Linked DNA regions of Homo sapiens: region 1 is linked to region 2. Evidence: promoter capture Hi-C in human tissues and cell types (Jung and others, 2019). All regions are on one chromosome and are shown on one strand. Each heading gives the region's core, a stretch centred on a gene start or on the middle of the fragment in contact. The rest is flanking DNA. Distances are from core to core; before and after follow the strand shown. Region 1 overlaps ZNF160 (zinc finger protein 160). Region 2 holds the start of ZNF816 (zinc finger protein 816).

Region 1 (7,291 bases), core at 251-2,750, 130 kb before region 2:
CGTGGAAGCAATGCTGAGCCTCTAGAGGAGCTGGATGAATGCTGCATGCACCTGGCCCACAGGTGACTGTGGGCTCACGGGATGTGTGGCACACTTGGAAAGAAGTCTCAGGTCTGGCTGTAGCACCTGGAAGTGGGTTTTGGGGTGGTTGTGGGGCTGCAGGATCATTTTGTAATGCCCTGATGTCTCAGCTCAGGTTACCTGGGAAACAGATGCTGACACAGAGATTTGCATGCAGGAATTTAATTCGGAAACTCATCATCACAGTGAAGAGGACTGAAGGCAGTGGAATCAGGCAGAGAAAAACATCCCGAAGTGTACTTAGAACCAAGACCTAAGCTGAGCCCAGAGGGAGCTTCAGCAGCAGGAGGATGGGCGCCTTGGCCTGAGGGTGTGGATCCCAGAGCTGCTCCACAGCATCCGCTCCACGGGGTGATTTCTGTGGAGGCTTTGGGAAGTGCAAAAACCATCCTGAAACCCATAGAGGAAAGATAGGAAGAATCTCAGAGATTATTTTCTGGGTTGCCTTTGGCATTCGGGGTATTTTCAGTTGCAGATCAATAAGCTTTCAGTTGTGTTTTGGAAGATGAAATGATCATTTGGAGTGTTTCCTTTCCTGATGTTGGGGTCTAATTGCATCATTAGAGACATCTCTGTTTTATTGGTAGGTTTCAGTGGTATTCCCCTGTGGGGTGGAGTCACTATGAGTGGAAATACGTTGCCCTGGGTCAGTGAGTTCCTGGGGTGTTTGTGTATATTATTCCATGAGTTACTGGGGCTTGTGAGATTTCATAACAGGGCTTCTGGATCTTTATGAAGTATCTGGGGATTGTGGGATCTTTATGAAGTATATGGGGAGTGTGGGAGTTTGTAAGCGTGTCTGAGTCCAGAGGGCAACGGGGATCCTAAGAATCAGGCGCAGATGGCTTTCATTAGGGAGGGTTTGTTGTGGGGGCGTCTGTGGGTGCAACTCAAGAGGGAGTGATTATCAGGGTCCCAGAGTAAGGGAAAGATTTCTCCAAGAATCAGAGTGAAACACAGCACACTGACCTGCGGCCCAAAGGCTTCCACTGGGACTGTCCTTGGGAAGATAAAGCTGCCACATTCTTGCAGCCAGGCCGGTGGCCTCTCCCTGTTTATTCCAAGATAACAGAGTCACAGAGTCACAAGGCAGCTGGGGAGCTGAGGGGCAAGGTCCTTGAAACCCGCTGTGGAACATGGACCTTTCTCCAGTGCAGAGGGGCCACGGGGCCCTGGGAAGGGAGTTGGAGGGTTACAGCCCTGGTCATGGCAGGGAGACGCAGGAACTGGAGGCAGGAAGAGCTGTGTTCATCCCCACAGGGTGCCCCTCCGCTCAGGAATTTGTGCAATAGAATGGGGTGAGCTAATGGGGTCACATTTAGGGAAAGGAGTCTTTCTGTCCACCCAACACACATCTCATCCTATGCACACGCTTCTCCCTTTCCCCGTTGTCCTCTCTATGATGGGAAACTAATGCTTCCCCAGGCGGGTGATTGAGGGAGAGGACGGGTTGGTCTGTTTGTCTCTCTCCTTTCTCCCCTCCCTCAGGTCTCCTGCCTGCCTTTCTGCTGCTCTGTTCAGACTCTCACTTCCTGCAGTTCTGCAGTCAGTTTGCCCCACGCAAGACCCAAGGATCTGGGTCTGTGAATAATATTCAAGCCAACATCATTGCCAAGTGAGAAATCTTAGACCCCAGGACCTTTTTTCCATGGAGGGGCCTGGGCACAGAGACAAACTCTTCTTTTTGCAGAATTTAGGGTCTTTTATTGGCCACGTGGGTCTGCTGAGCCTCAGACAGGGATCCCATAGTCAGCCAGATGTGTTTCTGGGTGGACTTGCGCTTGCCCTTCCACAGGTTGGTAAGCAGAGTGGTCTCCATGAAGGGCCCTTGGCTCTGCCCCTCAGTTAGTCCTGCTCAGCTCCCTTCTCACGAAAAAGACCACCCCAAGGACAAACATGCAGTCCACCCCTGCATACATCAGTCTCCCAAAGTGAAGACCATAAAAATGGCCTAATATTTCATTCATTCATTCAGTTATTTATTTATTTTGAGACGGAGTCTCGTTCTGTCTCCCAGGCTGGAGTGCAGTGGTGCGATCTCAGCTCACTGCAACCTCTGTCTCCTGAGTTCAAGCAATTCTCCTGCCTCACCCTCTGGAGTAGCTGGGACTACAGGCATGTGCCACCACTCCTGGGTCATTTTTTTGTATTTTTAGTAGAGACAGGGTTTTACCATGTTGGTCAGCTGGTCTTGAACTCCTGACTTCATATGATCTGCCCACCTCGGCCTCCCAAAGTGCTGGGATTACAAGCATAAGTCACCGCACCTGACCATATATCATTTCCTTTTAATTATTTACTTATTTAATTTTTACTACACTCCCATTTTAGCAATACTAATATTTCATTTAATGTTGCTATTATTATTTACTGTTATTGAGACAGAAGCTTTGTGTTAGACGCTGATCTCATGTAACGTGACTCTTTTATAATTGTGCTTAGGATTCCACGGGAGATGAGTGAATAAACGACTGAACATTGTGCATAAACAGACAATTTATATATTCATAAGATTAAGACATTTTGTATTCCTCATCCGTTATGCAAAGCAAAGACTAGACACTCTGGAGTCATCTCTCATGAGAACAAACCTGCGGACAGCTGGGAAGCACACCAGCCACCAACTGGGAGTATTAAAAAGAGCAATCCAGTCTCCAAATCAAGGGGAGGGTTCAAATCATAGACAAGCTGCAGAGCCACCGGGTCTCAGAGTTTCCCGCGGAAACGCTGGGACTCGCTACCAATCCCATGAGCGCACCTGGGGATTTTAACGTCTGGTGGGATGGTGGATTCCGAGTGTGGTTGGACAGGGCTGGAGTGCCCTGAAAGGCCTGAATGCTCTCCTGCCGGTGAGAAAACTGGAAGCGGATTCTGGGAGGGAGCTGTCGCCAGCGAGAGGCGGGTCTTGGATAGTGGGGAGAGGCCAGGTGGGGAGGGTGGAAGCCACCGTGAGGTGGGGTCTGGGCAATGGGAAAGGGGTGCAAGAGGGTCGTGTGGGAGGGTGGAACTGCTGTGGGCGGGGCCTGGGCAGTGGGGAGGGGGCGGGGTGAGGAGGGTGAAAGTCGCCCTGGGGTGCGGTCTGGGCAATGGGAAAGGGGTGGAAGAGGGTGGGGTGGGAGGGTGGGACTACCGTGGGGGCGGGGCCTGGGCAGTGGGGAAGGGGTGGGGTGAGAAGGGTAAAAGTCGCCCTGGGCTGGGGTCTGGGCAACGGGAAAGGGCTGGAAGAGGGCGGCGGGATGGGAGGGTGGAAGCTGCTATGGTGCAGCCTGGGCTGTGGGAAGCGGGCAGGGCCGGGAAAGGAGCGGGCCTGGGCTCTCTACTCCTCTTGGCCCCAGGTCATTTTCTGCTATGTCAGCCTTTCTCTCCACTAGGACTGGATCAACAGCATTGCACTGCTAAAATAAAGTTTCAGCTAATTGAAATTAGCCGGGGATGCTTCCTGCTTATTTTCAGTTAATAAGCAGGGATGCTTCCGGCTTATTTTCAGTCCAGGGACGCTTCCTGCTTATTTTCAGTTAATCCAACATTTCAAACAATTTAAGGCAAAAGAACAGAATGGTACTGGGCCACTTAATTGAAGGCTAAGGTTTTTTTACTCTTACATTGAAAACGATTTAAGTGAAAAACTCATTTTGTTTGCAGGTGGAGACAGGCATCCTACCATTAAGAGGATCACAACTCATCTTAGCTCAGGGTACCAGGAGGGGTGCAGGGGCATCAGCGGATGGTCCCTGTGGGGCAGTGGTTTCATCCTGGAACTGGCAATTAGAACCGTTTAATTAATCCGGGACCTGATTTGTCTGTTTAGAGGATGAAACGAAGGTGAAATTTCTACTTGTGCTGTGTTCAGTTTCATAGTGACAACGATCGGAACATCGTTTCCATTTCTATTTGCCAGGCACCGGGATGGAAGAAAGAGAACTCTGGGCTTAGGTCCAGGGGCGTTTCAAGGACCCTGGACCAGGGTGTGTGGAGGAACGGTATCTGGTAATTTAGGTCGCCAACCATTCCCTTAAACATAAAGAATACTTTTTAAAATAGAGGAATTATAGGGAAAATCTCAGAGATAAATTTCTGGGTTACCTTTGGTATTTTGGAGTATTTTGTGTTGTAGATCAAGAAGCTTTCGGATGCATTTTGGAAGATAAAATAGTTTGGAGTGTTACCTTGTATGATATCGGGGTCTCATTGGAGCATGTGCATCACTAATGCCTTGTTTCCTTATCTTTCAATTGTTGATCTATTACACAATTGTAAGGGAATTTTAAATGTATATGGCTTTGAAATGAAGTTGGTGCATCTCATTTTTTCAATTAGCTGAAATTTTCCTTTAGCAGTTAATGATGTCTCTTATGTGTGACAGGAACATTCAGTACACCCACAGTGAAGGCTGAGTGCCCTTCAAAGCTTTTTTCTTCTGTTTTTTGTTTTTTGAGACAGGCTCTGTCACCCAGGCTGGAGTGGTGCGATCATAGCTCACTGCAATCTCACACTCACTTCAGCCTCCTGAATAGCTGGGACTATAGACATGCACCACCACACCTGGATAATTTCTAAATTTTTTTGTATAGATGGGGTCTTACTATGTTGCCCAGGCTGGATTCAGTGCCGAGTCTCAAAGGCCAAGGTACCAGGGCAAGTTCATTAGTTTTGAGTTTCACTTGGTGTTATGTGTTGACAATGTAGAAGCCGATTTTGACCCTGTAATCCTAGCAGATAGCAAAGGTTAAGCCTCCCCCTTCCATCCTTTCTTCTTTTTTTTTGTTTTTTTAGATGGAGTCCTGCTCTGTTGCCCAGGCTGGAGTGCAGTGGCACGATCTTGGCTCATTGCAGCCTCTGCCTCCCAGGTTCAAGTGATTCTCCTGCCTCAGCCTCCCTAGTAACTGGGATAACAGGCGCTGCCACCGCGCCTGGCTAATTTTTGTATTTTTAGTAGAGACAACGTTTCACCATGTTGGCCAGGCTTGTTTTGAACTCCTGACCTCAGGTGATCCACCTGCCTCGGCCTCCCAAAGTGAAGTGCTGGGATTACAGGCATGAACCACCGTGCCCGGCCAGAAATATCCTTTTTAAATCTCTTGTGAATATGTTGATTTTGCTTCAATGAAAATGTATAAGCATTTAAACTCTGCATATACAAAATGGATTCATGGCTTTCATCTATAATCAGATTCACCCCTACTATTCTCAATTTAATGAAAAGATCCAAAATCAAATCATTTCTTTGCTTGGGATCATGGAAGTCCATGCTGAAACTGCTTTCTTGTCAACATAGGTACTTAGCAATATTGCGTAACACAGAGCAGTCTACCTTGCAAAAGTCCCCAAATCTATCCCAGACACCATATCTTTTGAAACTGTAGATGTAGTTGTGAAATATGCTATTTTTCCTGTCTAAACAATTGTATTTTCAATTAATCACCACTTTTCCATTGATGAAATCTTCCACATGTGGGGATGTGAGAGGCAAACATACTTCAAAGTAGAGGTAAATTCACAGATGTTGCCATAAAATTATTGCTAGTAGATACGATGCCATTTAATATTTGATAATCTAGTTTTACTTTGTATAGGGTTCATATGAAGGAGAATATCCAGCCAGCATGGTAGCTCACGCCTGTAATCCCAGCACTCTGGGAGGCCAAAGCAGGTGGATCACTTGAGGTCAGGAGTTTGAGACCACCCTGGCCAATGTGGTGAAACTCCGTCTCTACTAAAAATACAAAAAAAATTAGCTGGGCCTAGTGGCGTGTGCCTGTAATCCCGGTTACTTGGGAGGCTGAGACAGGAGAATCGCTTGAACCCAGGAGGCAGAGGTTGCAATGAGCCAAGATTGCGCCATTGCACTCTAGCCTGAGCGACAGAGGGAGACTCTGTCTCAAAAGAAAAAAAAAATACCCTATCAAATACGCTTAAAATCTTGCAAAATTAATTACCCTTGAGGTGAATATAAATGTAAATGTTTTCTGAAGATGATTTTACAGGCTTTTTTTCTACAACAGATTAAAATAAGTACTTAGAAAACAATTTTTATTTAAATATTGTAATCTATGTTCTTTGGTTTCTCTTCCGTTTCTTCAAGTACTTTTGGAATGCATGTGAAGTGAATTTCAAATTACGCCATATGTAGAGATTATTGACATAAGCATATTACAATGACAAAGTTTATCTCAAAGGTATTTGAGGCCGTCATCTCAAGAGTGGAATGGGATAAAGGAAGAACAATGGAATTTATTTCTATTTGTAAAAAGTTACTGCTTTTTAAAAAGCAAGTTATTGACCTAACCAATACCTAGGCCTTAGCCCTGCTCTGGAACCGAGGTTGACGCTGTCCTTCCTGAGTGCGCGGGGAATAGAAATGGAAAGGAGGTTCTGCTGATCAGCATGAAATTGTACACTCCCTGCTAAGCTCAAATTTTGCATTTCACATTCTAGTTTGCATCTCATTCAGTTACAGCATTTCTTTAAATGCTTAATTTTAATTGCAGAAACGTTCCTGGATCCGAACACTGCCCCCTGACGACCTAGAGAGATCCCGGCTCCCAGCCCACTGAGTGGCTTCAGCCTCGCTGGTAGGTCTCTCCTCCAAAGCTCTGGAAACAGACTCCTGGGAGTGAGAGGGAGGGGAGCGCAGGCACCGCCCCCTTTCCCCAAGTCCCCCGCCCACTTCATCCCTCAGGCACCTCCCAACTCCTGGCCTCTCTGCACGAGGCGCCTGCCCCGGGCCCCGCCTACAGGGGACCCAGCTCTTCTTGCAGCCACTGGAAGCTGATCACCTGGAGTGAAGACCTCACACGTGAGTTTCCCTCTGTTTAGGTTAAACTTGGGCTTCCCAGGCTCCTGCACATCCAGACTCGATTTGCAGGAGTCCTCAGAGACATATGTGTATATATGAGTGATTGTAGTTCACTGCAGCCTGGACCTCCTGGGCTCAAGCGATCCTCCCACCTCAGCCTCCTGAGTAGCTGGGACCACCGGTGTGTACCACCACCACGTTTAAATAATTTTTTTTATATATATTTAGTAGAGAGGAAGTCTCACTGTGTTGCCTGAGCTGGTCTCGAATTTGTGGGCTCAAGTGATCCTCCCGCTTCGGCTGGGATTACAGCCCACGAAGTGCTGGGATTACAGGCATGAGCCGTCACTCCGGACCCTATAGACCTTAGTATCCCCTCATGGCTCTTTCATTCCCAAGTAAATTCAGAGGTGT
Region 2 (7,520 bases), core at 596-3,095:
TAGCCAGGCCTGGTGGTGAGGGCCTGTGGCCCCAGCTAGTTGGGAGGTGAGACGGGAGGATTGCTTGAGCCCCAGAGGTTGAGGTTGCAGTGGGCAGTGTTCCCACCACTGCATTCCATCCTGGGTGTCAGAACTAGGTCCTGTTTCTAGGGAAAAAAAAATTACAACTTGAAGATAAAAAGTACATTTTCTACTTATTTTCAGAAGGCACGTAAAGTGAATTTGATATTACAATACACTTAGGAATTATTTTTTAAAAAAAGAATTTGAGAATGAGGACCAAGGTCTAATTTTTTTCTCTTGCCCAAATTCCTATCTAAAGGGTCTGGGGAGTCATGCCCTACAAACCATAAATACTCATCAGATGGGTTTTATTTAGTCCTATATATCCTGTCTTACTTTCCAGTCTGACTCTGGAATAACGTGACAAAGAAGAAAGTCAAAATATTTTACCCCAAAACATGTTTCTGTGCCATATTTTGAAATGGTCCTGCAAAGCTGTTCTTTGTGAGGGGTACATGTGCATTTGTAAAGAATCTCTGTTAACATAGCTAGATCTTTTTCTTCTAGGCCCTACCAATCCTGAAGAGATTAAGTAAGAATCTCGCACTGTTTAAAGGTCTGAATAGAAAACACTTATCATCTATTATCTCTAAGGGCAGCCAATAGAAGACTTGAAAACAACATTGGTCTCCACAATCTTTTACCTTAACGTGAACATTTCCTCTCCGTTGATCCCAGGTATTTAGACAAACTCAACCAATTGTCAATCAGAAAATGTTTCAATTTACCTGTAGCCCAGAAGTCCCCGCTTTGAGTTGCCCCTCCTTTCTGAACCAAAGCAGCGTATTTCTTAAATGTATTTGATTGATGTCTAATGCCTCCCTAAAATGTCTAAGAACAAGCTGTTCCCCATCACCTTGGACACATGTTCTCAGGACCTCCTGAGGGTCATTCATATTTAGCTTAGAATAAATCTCTTAAGATATTTTACAGTTTGATTCTTTTCCACGACAAAAATAACTCATTTTAAGTGCAGCATGAAATAATAAACGTAAGAAACAACTGGGCAACTTATATGCACTGTTACAATGTCAGTGCTTTTTTTAAATCACTTTTTTGTTTATTGAGACGGAGGAGGGAGCTCTGGGATAGAGGGTCTTACTTTGTCGCCCAGGCTGGCCTGGAACTCCAGGCTCAGCGATCCTCTCGCCCCTGCTTCCTGAGTAGCGGGGACCCCAGACTCCTGCCACCCCGCCCGCATCCCTGCTGTGTTTAAGCACACTCCTCTGCTCCGCACCCCAGACGGTGGCCCTAGGGAAGTCTCAGGAGCTGAGCACAGTGTGGACTCTCCCACTCCAGTGAATGGAGAATTGAAAGGGAGAGGATTTCTATTCTGTTCTGTGGACCGTCAGCATGAAATTGTACCTTTCGCTCAGGCAAGGCTTTGCATTTCGCATTCTAGTTTGCATTCCTGCCGTAGACAACTTCCAGGCTTTGGAATTAAATTGCTAAAATAAATTTCAATAGCAAGGAACTTTCCCGGATCCAATTACCGCCACACGGCGACTTCTCAGGGAGGTACTATTTCCCTGACTGCTGAGCTGCTCCAGCCTCACTGGCGGGTTTCACCTCTAAAACCTTGAAAACAGAGGCGCGGAGAGCGAGATGGAGAAAAGCTCAGGCCCCGCCCCTTTCCCGCCCCCGCGGACTCCTCCCAGCCCAAGACTCTTCTCTTCCGCGCCGGGCCCCTTGTCCTTTGCACCCCGCCCCGGCCTCGCCCAGGCCCCGCCCACCTCTCGGGGATCTGGCCCAGGTCCCGCTTCTGTCCTGCGCCGATTGGCACAGACCCGGAAGCGGATGGCGTGGACTGAAAGTTGCACGGCGGCGTGTGCGTTTCCTAGTTGTCTGGTGCTGCTATATAGGGGACGTGGGGTCCCCACAGACCTGCAGGTTCCGGCCCCTCTTTTCTCAACCCAGAGCAAATTGAAACGTCCGGGTGAGAGTCCGTGAGTCGCTTCCTTTTGAGTTTAAAGTTGCCCTGAGGCTGGTCCCGTCCCCGGTCTTTCTGCAGTGGGGCCGTGCAGACACCTCCTGTCGCGAAACTTTCCTTAGCAAAACCCTTTCTGACGCGTCCTCCCGCCTCGCGCTGTTTCAAGTCCTCACCCGGAGCTGGATTCTTGCCCTGGGCAAGAGCGCTTCCCAGCCTCGCTCTAGTCGGCCCCTGGAGCGCAGCGTTGCAGCCCCGCAGCCCCAGGGTGGCCGGTGCTTTGTGGCCACTCCTGGGCTCTTTCCCTTTCCATCTGAGACGTGGTGGAAGTGGGAGGGCTACAGGGAGAGTACCCTTTGATCCTTTGTTACTACGGGTGGGGAGATGGGGTTATTCCTTTTGGTCTAGTTTTGCAAAGTTCACATTAATTGGCCTTAGATTCCCAGAGCCAGGACCCAGATTTTCACTTTTCTTCTTTGTTGTTGGAGATGGGTCTCTGTGCCTACAGACTAGTATAGCCTGTGCCTGGACTAGTATAGTATAGTATAGTCTCTGTGCCTGGACTAGTATAGTCCAGCGGGGGCCGTCCAGTCTCAATGAAATTCTGGATGAGCCTAGGCAGTCTGTAATTTAGAAAATTTACGTAATGAGTTCTTTTCAGTGTGGTTTAAGCCTCACCAAGTGACTGTCCTTGTTGTGCTGTTGTATACAACTTCTGTCCTAGACAATTGAGCTTTCTTACGGGGTTGCTGAAGTTTTTTCTTTCCTTAGCTACATAGTATTGTCTAATAACTGAGGTTTTTAGGACCTAGAAGTTGCTAGTTTGGGCCTTCTGAGCTGGAATTGTGTGAGGAACTGGATCAGTGGGCACCAACTCTCGGGCTTCCTGAGGCCATCGGTCTCCAACAGTAGTTCCTCCGCGTACATAACAAGAAGCAACATTGAGGGAATGAGCTACATTTTCCGTTAACTGGAGAAACAAGTTCCTTGTCTTTTTTGGAAGCTCTGGTGCTGGCAGATTTAGCTCATTATAAAAGGCTTGAAACACTGGTTTGGGAAAGGGCCTGGGGACCTCCCCTCGGACTAAAATGGCAACTTGGGGGGTTACCCTTGTCCTATTGACCGTCAGGATTACACCTTCTCTTTTTCTCTAACGGGGGTCTAGGGAATTAGTGATTATTAGTTCTAGTGGGTTACAGTGACTGCTAGCACAGGAGGGGTTGGCTTCTTTTTTTTGAAAGTGAACCGGGTCTTTTTTGTCATTTTTCTAAGTAGCCTAAATAACACATGGGCAACAGGCAAATTTTCACAGACCTCTGCCTCATGACAAACATTTATTTTCTACTGTGCAGCTCCTTTCTTAGTTAAGAGAGCCACATCTTAATCTGAGCTTGTTACTATTAATGGCTGCACAAGCATCAAATTTAAAGTTTCTTGTTTGGGGATTCTTTTTTCTTCTGTTCTAGTTATTATTTTACTTGTGTCACCTAGGAAAGGACCAGTTCTTAATCTTATTTGAAAAACGGTGGTTGCAGGAGGCTTAGATGGGTTATAACCCATAGTAGGTTTGTCATTTCCTGGGCTACGTACCTTGTATTGAGTGGAATTATACAAATAAGATCCTTTTAACGTGCCTGTACATTCATAATAACTATAGAACAGAAAGATTGTTTTAATTTGCTGTCCTATCTCAGTGACCTGATGAATACACTGGGAACAGTCCTTAGTTTGAGGAAGGTCAGTTGAAGCCTTTACTGTACAAGTCTAAAATTTAAGAAGAATGAGTCCCACGATGAGCTTCCTCATGCTTCCACTGTGCGTAGGACCAGTCAGCTTCCGGGTGTGACTGGAGCAGGGCTTGTCGTCTTCTTCAGGGTCACTTTGCAGGGGTTATCTGGGCTTGGCCTTGCCTCCCAGGTTTCAGGCGCTGCAGGTTTTATATGGCTGTGGTGGATCCAGGCCGGGATTCCTTCTACCTTCACAGCGGTGGGAGTGGTCAGGATGACGGTCTGGGGTACTTTCCAGTGGGGGCACACAGGGGCTACGTTCCAGTCCTTGATCCACACTCAATCACCCGGGGAGAAAGAGTGAACTGGGGAGAATAAGCTAATGGGGCATCTCTCATTTACCTGGGCTGAAATCATTTGTGTAATTTTTCCTAAGGCCTTAAGCTATTTTTGATAATCCGATTCATTCACTCCACCTTTCCAGAACTCTGAGGTCAGAAGGCAGCATGCAGTTTCCACGTGATCTTTAATACCTTTGCTGTCGTCTGTACTAAGTCAGCCACAAACTCCAGCCCGTTATCCGAGCTGATTCGTAAGGGCCGTCCAAATCTAGGAATAAGATCTCGAAGAAGCACATGAGCTTTCTCAGTTCGTGTGGGATAAGCCTCCACCTACCTAGAGTAGGTACACACGAGAACTAGTAAATACTTGTTACTTCTACACTTTGGCATTTCTGTGAAGTCCACCTGGAGATCTTCAAAGGGGGCTGCTTCATAAGCTTGTATGCCGGGCAGAATGGCTGAACCCTGCCTCGCATTGTGCTGTCGGCAGGTAACACACCGCTGTGCCACGGTTTTGGCGAGGGCTGACAATTGTGAGCTGTAGAAGTACCAGCCTAACAACTGTTCAAGTGACTCCTGACCTAGATGGGTGGTTTCATGCACCTCCAGTACAACTGTGGCTCCTAGCAGCTGTGGCACAGGTACTGTCCTATTTGGTGACCGGATCCTTCCTTCTTCCATCACCTGTCTTCCCTCTGCCTGGAGAAAGTCTTTTTCTTCTTTAGAATAAGTAGGTACAAGGTCAGGTGCTTGAGGGAGCAAGGGGGCTGTGACTGATGCCCAGTAGGGTGTGGATGTTGCTTTTCGAGCTTCTGAGTCAGCTCTGGAGTTCCCTAAGGCAACCGAGGTGGAAGCTCGCTGGTGTCCTCTGCAGTGCATGACTGCCACATTGTGGGGTTTCTATGCTGCTTCTAATAATTGCAAGATTTCTTGCTGATATTTTATGTCTTTTTCTCCAGAGTTCAACAGGCCCTTTTCTTTATATAATGCTTTATGCACTTGAAGGGTTAAAAAGGCATACCGAGAGTCAGTGTAAATATTTTCAGTCTTACCTTCACTGAGTTCTAAGGCCTGAATTAAAGCAATGAGCTCGGCTTTCTGGGCTGAAGTGCCCTGGGACAACGATCTGGCATCAATGGCAGTGTCCAGGGTTACTACCGCATATCCTGCACATCTCTCTCCTTGTGGGCTGTTGAAGCTGCTCCTGTCCACTTATAGCTCCCAGTCTACTGATGCCCAAGGCTGGTCTCAAAGGTCAAGCCTGCTAAAGTAAACTGAGTCCAACACCTCTACACAGTTATGCTCAACAGGGCTGTCTGATACCAAGAGTAAGGTGGCGGGGTTCAGGGTGTTACAAACTTCAATGGTTATGTGGGGATTTTCACAGAGCAAGCTTTGGTACTTGTTTAGTCTAGCATTCATTAGCCAATGATGTCTTTTGGTATTCATTAAAGTCACCACAGCATGGGGGGCCTTTATGTTCAGGTTTTGCCTAAGAGTTAGTTTATCTGCTTCTTCTGCCAGCAGGGCAGTTGCTGCCAAGGCCCTCAAACATGAGGGCTAACCTTTAGAATCCCCATTTAGTTTCTTAGAGAGGCAGGCCACTGGCCTCGGCCAGGGCCCCACAGTTTGGATCAAAACCCTAACTGCCGTATTTTCTCTCTCAGAAACATACAGCGTAAAAGGCTTTGTCAGGTCAGGTAACCCCAGGGCTGGGGCTGACATAAGATTTTCTTTTAACTCATGAAAGGCTTGCTGTTGTTGGGATCTCCGTTCAAAAGGTTCCTGGTCCTGCCCCTTTGTGACTCCGTACAGAGGCTTGGCCAGTACTACAAAGTTTGGGATCCACGGTCTGCAGAACCTCACAGCACCTAAGAATTCTTTCACCTGCTTTCTGGTCTTAGGCTTCAGTAGGTTGCAAAAAGCCTGCTTTCCTTCTGATCCCAGGCTGCGCTCCCCCTGTTGGATAGTAAATCCTAGGTAATGTACCTGCTGTCAGCAGATCTGGGCTTTCTTCTTGGACAACTTATACCTATAGTCCTCCAAGGGCCAGAGTAGGGCATCCTTTCCCTTGGCACACTCAACTGCCATGGGGTGTCCTAACAGAAGGTCATCAACGTACTGGAGCAATGCGCAGCCTAGGTCTCTGGTGGGAAACTTCTGGAGGTCCCGAGCCAGTGCTTCCCTGAAGATGGTGGGGGAGTTCTTGAACCCTTGCAGAAGCCGGGTCCAAGAGTACTGAGCAGTGACACCTGATCCCAGATCTTCCTACTGAAAGGCAAACAGCTTCTGGCTCTGAGGGGCTAGTCTAATGCTAAAGAAAGTGTCTTTCAGGTCTAAGCCAGAGAACCAGCTGTCCTCAGCTGGCAGCAACCTTAACGTGTACGGGTTAGGTACTGTTGGATGTAAAGTCACTGTAGCTTGATTGACTAAGTGCAAGTCCTGTACCGGCCTGTAGTCATTGGTCCCTGGCGTGGGAACAGGCAGGAGGGGAGTGTTCCAGGGAGACTGACAAGGGACTGTAATTCTAAAGGCTCTCAGGCTCTTGAGATGGACCTGGATACTTTCAAGATCTTCTCTGGGGACCAGGTACTGTTTTTGCCTGACTGGCTGGGCCCTACGCTTAACTTCTATAAGTACCAGGGCTTGGTTAACTGCCATCCCTGGAGGGTTGTCTTCTGTCTACACCCTTGGCCACCGCTTAGCCAGAGTTGGTCTTATCTCTTGGCCTGGCTCAGTTAAAAGAAGTCTCCATTCCTCTTCCTGGGGGACTGTAAGGGCCATAATGACTCCCGTTCTGGGTAACCTTAGCTGTAAAGAGCTGTGCTCTGTAGAAGAGACGGTGGCTCTCAGCTCGCTAAGCAAGTCCTTTCAAGTCCTTTCAAGTCAGGCATGTACAAGAACTGGTGAATCACTTTATGTCTTCCTACAGTACAAGTCTGGGGCAACAGAAAGCTTGCTTTGATAAAACTCCCATGGCTCCGATTATAACAATAGTCTTTTTGGAAAGGGGGGCAACCGGGGCGGTTACTACTGAATGTTCAGCACTGGTATCAATACGAAAATCAATGTCTTTGCCCCTAACTGTCATCTTGACCATGGGCTCCTTGGGGGCAGTTGAGCCTGGTCCTCCTCAGTTCAGTAACTCTTCTGCTATATTGAACAGGGCTCCTTCTGGGGCCTCCTGCTCTGAGCCACCTTGTTTTCCTTTTAGCTGAGGGCACTTGTCCTTCTAATATCCTATTTCTTTACAGTAAGCACACTGGTTACACTGCAAGTTCGGATGGCCAGGCTAAGTATCTTTCTGGGGCACATGCCTACCTGGTAGCACTCTCAGAATCCATGTCGCCCAAGCTGGCTGGAGTACCCAGCAGGGATGCTCCAAAGGGCAGGCCTAAGTCACCTAAGGGGTTGCCTCGACCTTCTGTTAATTACCTCGCTTCCAAGTCAGGGAACCAAGAA

The links. The method cuts DNA at HindIII sites, captures the fragments that hold promoters and counts their contacts. A contact is called where the count stands out against the background at its distance.
Region 1: a fragment that was not itself captured here is called in contact with the fragment with the promoter of ZNF816 in region 2 in 1 of the 25 tissues and cell types used here (IMR-90 fibroblasts).

Annotation. Positions count from the first base shown.
Region 1 is chr19:53,090,999-53,098,289 of GRCh38, reverse strand. ZNF160 (zinc finger protein 160) reads left to right here. Exons shown (of 6, transcript NM_001322131.2): 2 at 6,570-6,877. Among named protein-coding and RNA genes, the nearest start is that of ZNF160, 8.8 kb to the left of the region's middle. The HindIII fragment of the contact is 5,693 bases long and covers 1-4,346 here.
Region 2 is chr19:52,957,206-52,964,725 of GRCh38, reverse strand. It overlaps ZNF816 (zinc finger protein 816), which reads left to right and starts at 1,845. Exons shown (of 4, transcript NM_001202457.3): 1 at 1,845-1,999. It overlaps ZNF816-ZNF321P (ZNF816-ZNF321P readthrough), which reads left to right and starts at 1,845. Exons shown (of 4, transcript NM_001202473.2): 1 at 1,845-2,009. RefSeq lists a silencer at 1,618-1,817 and an enhancer at 1,878-2,127. The HindIII fragment of the contact is 7,894 bases long and covers 1-4,973 here.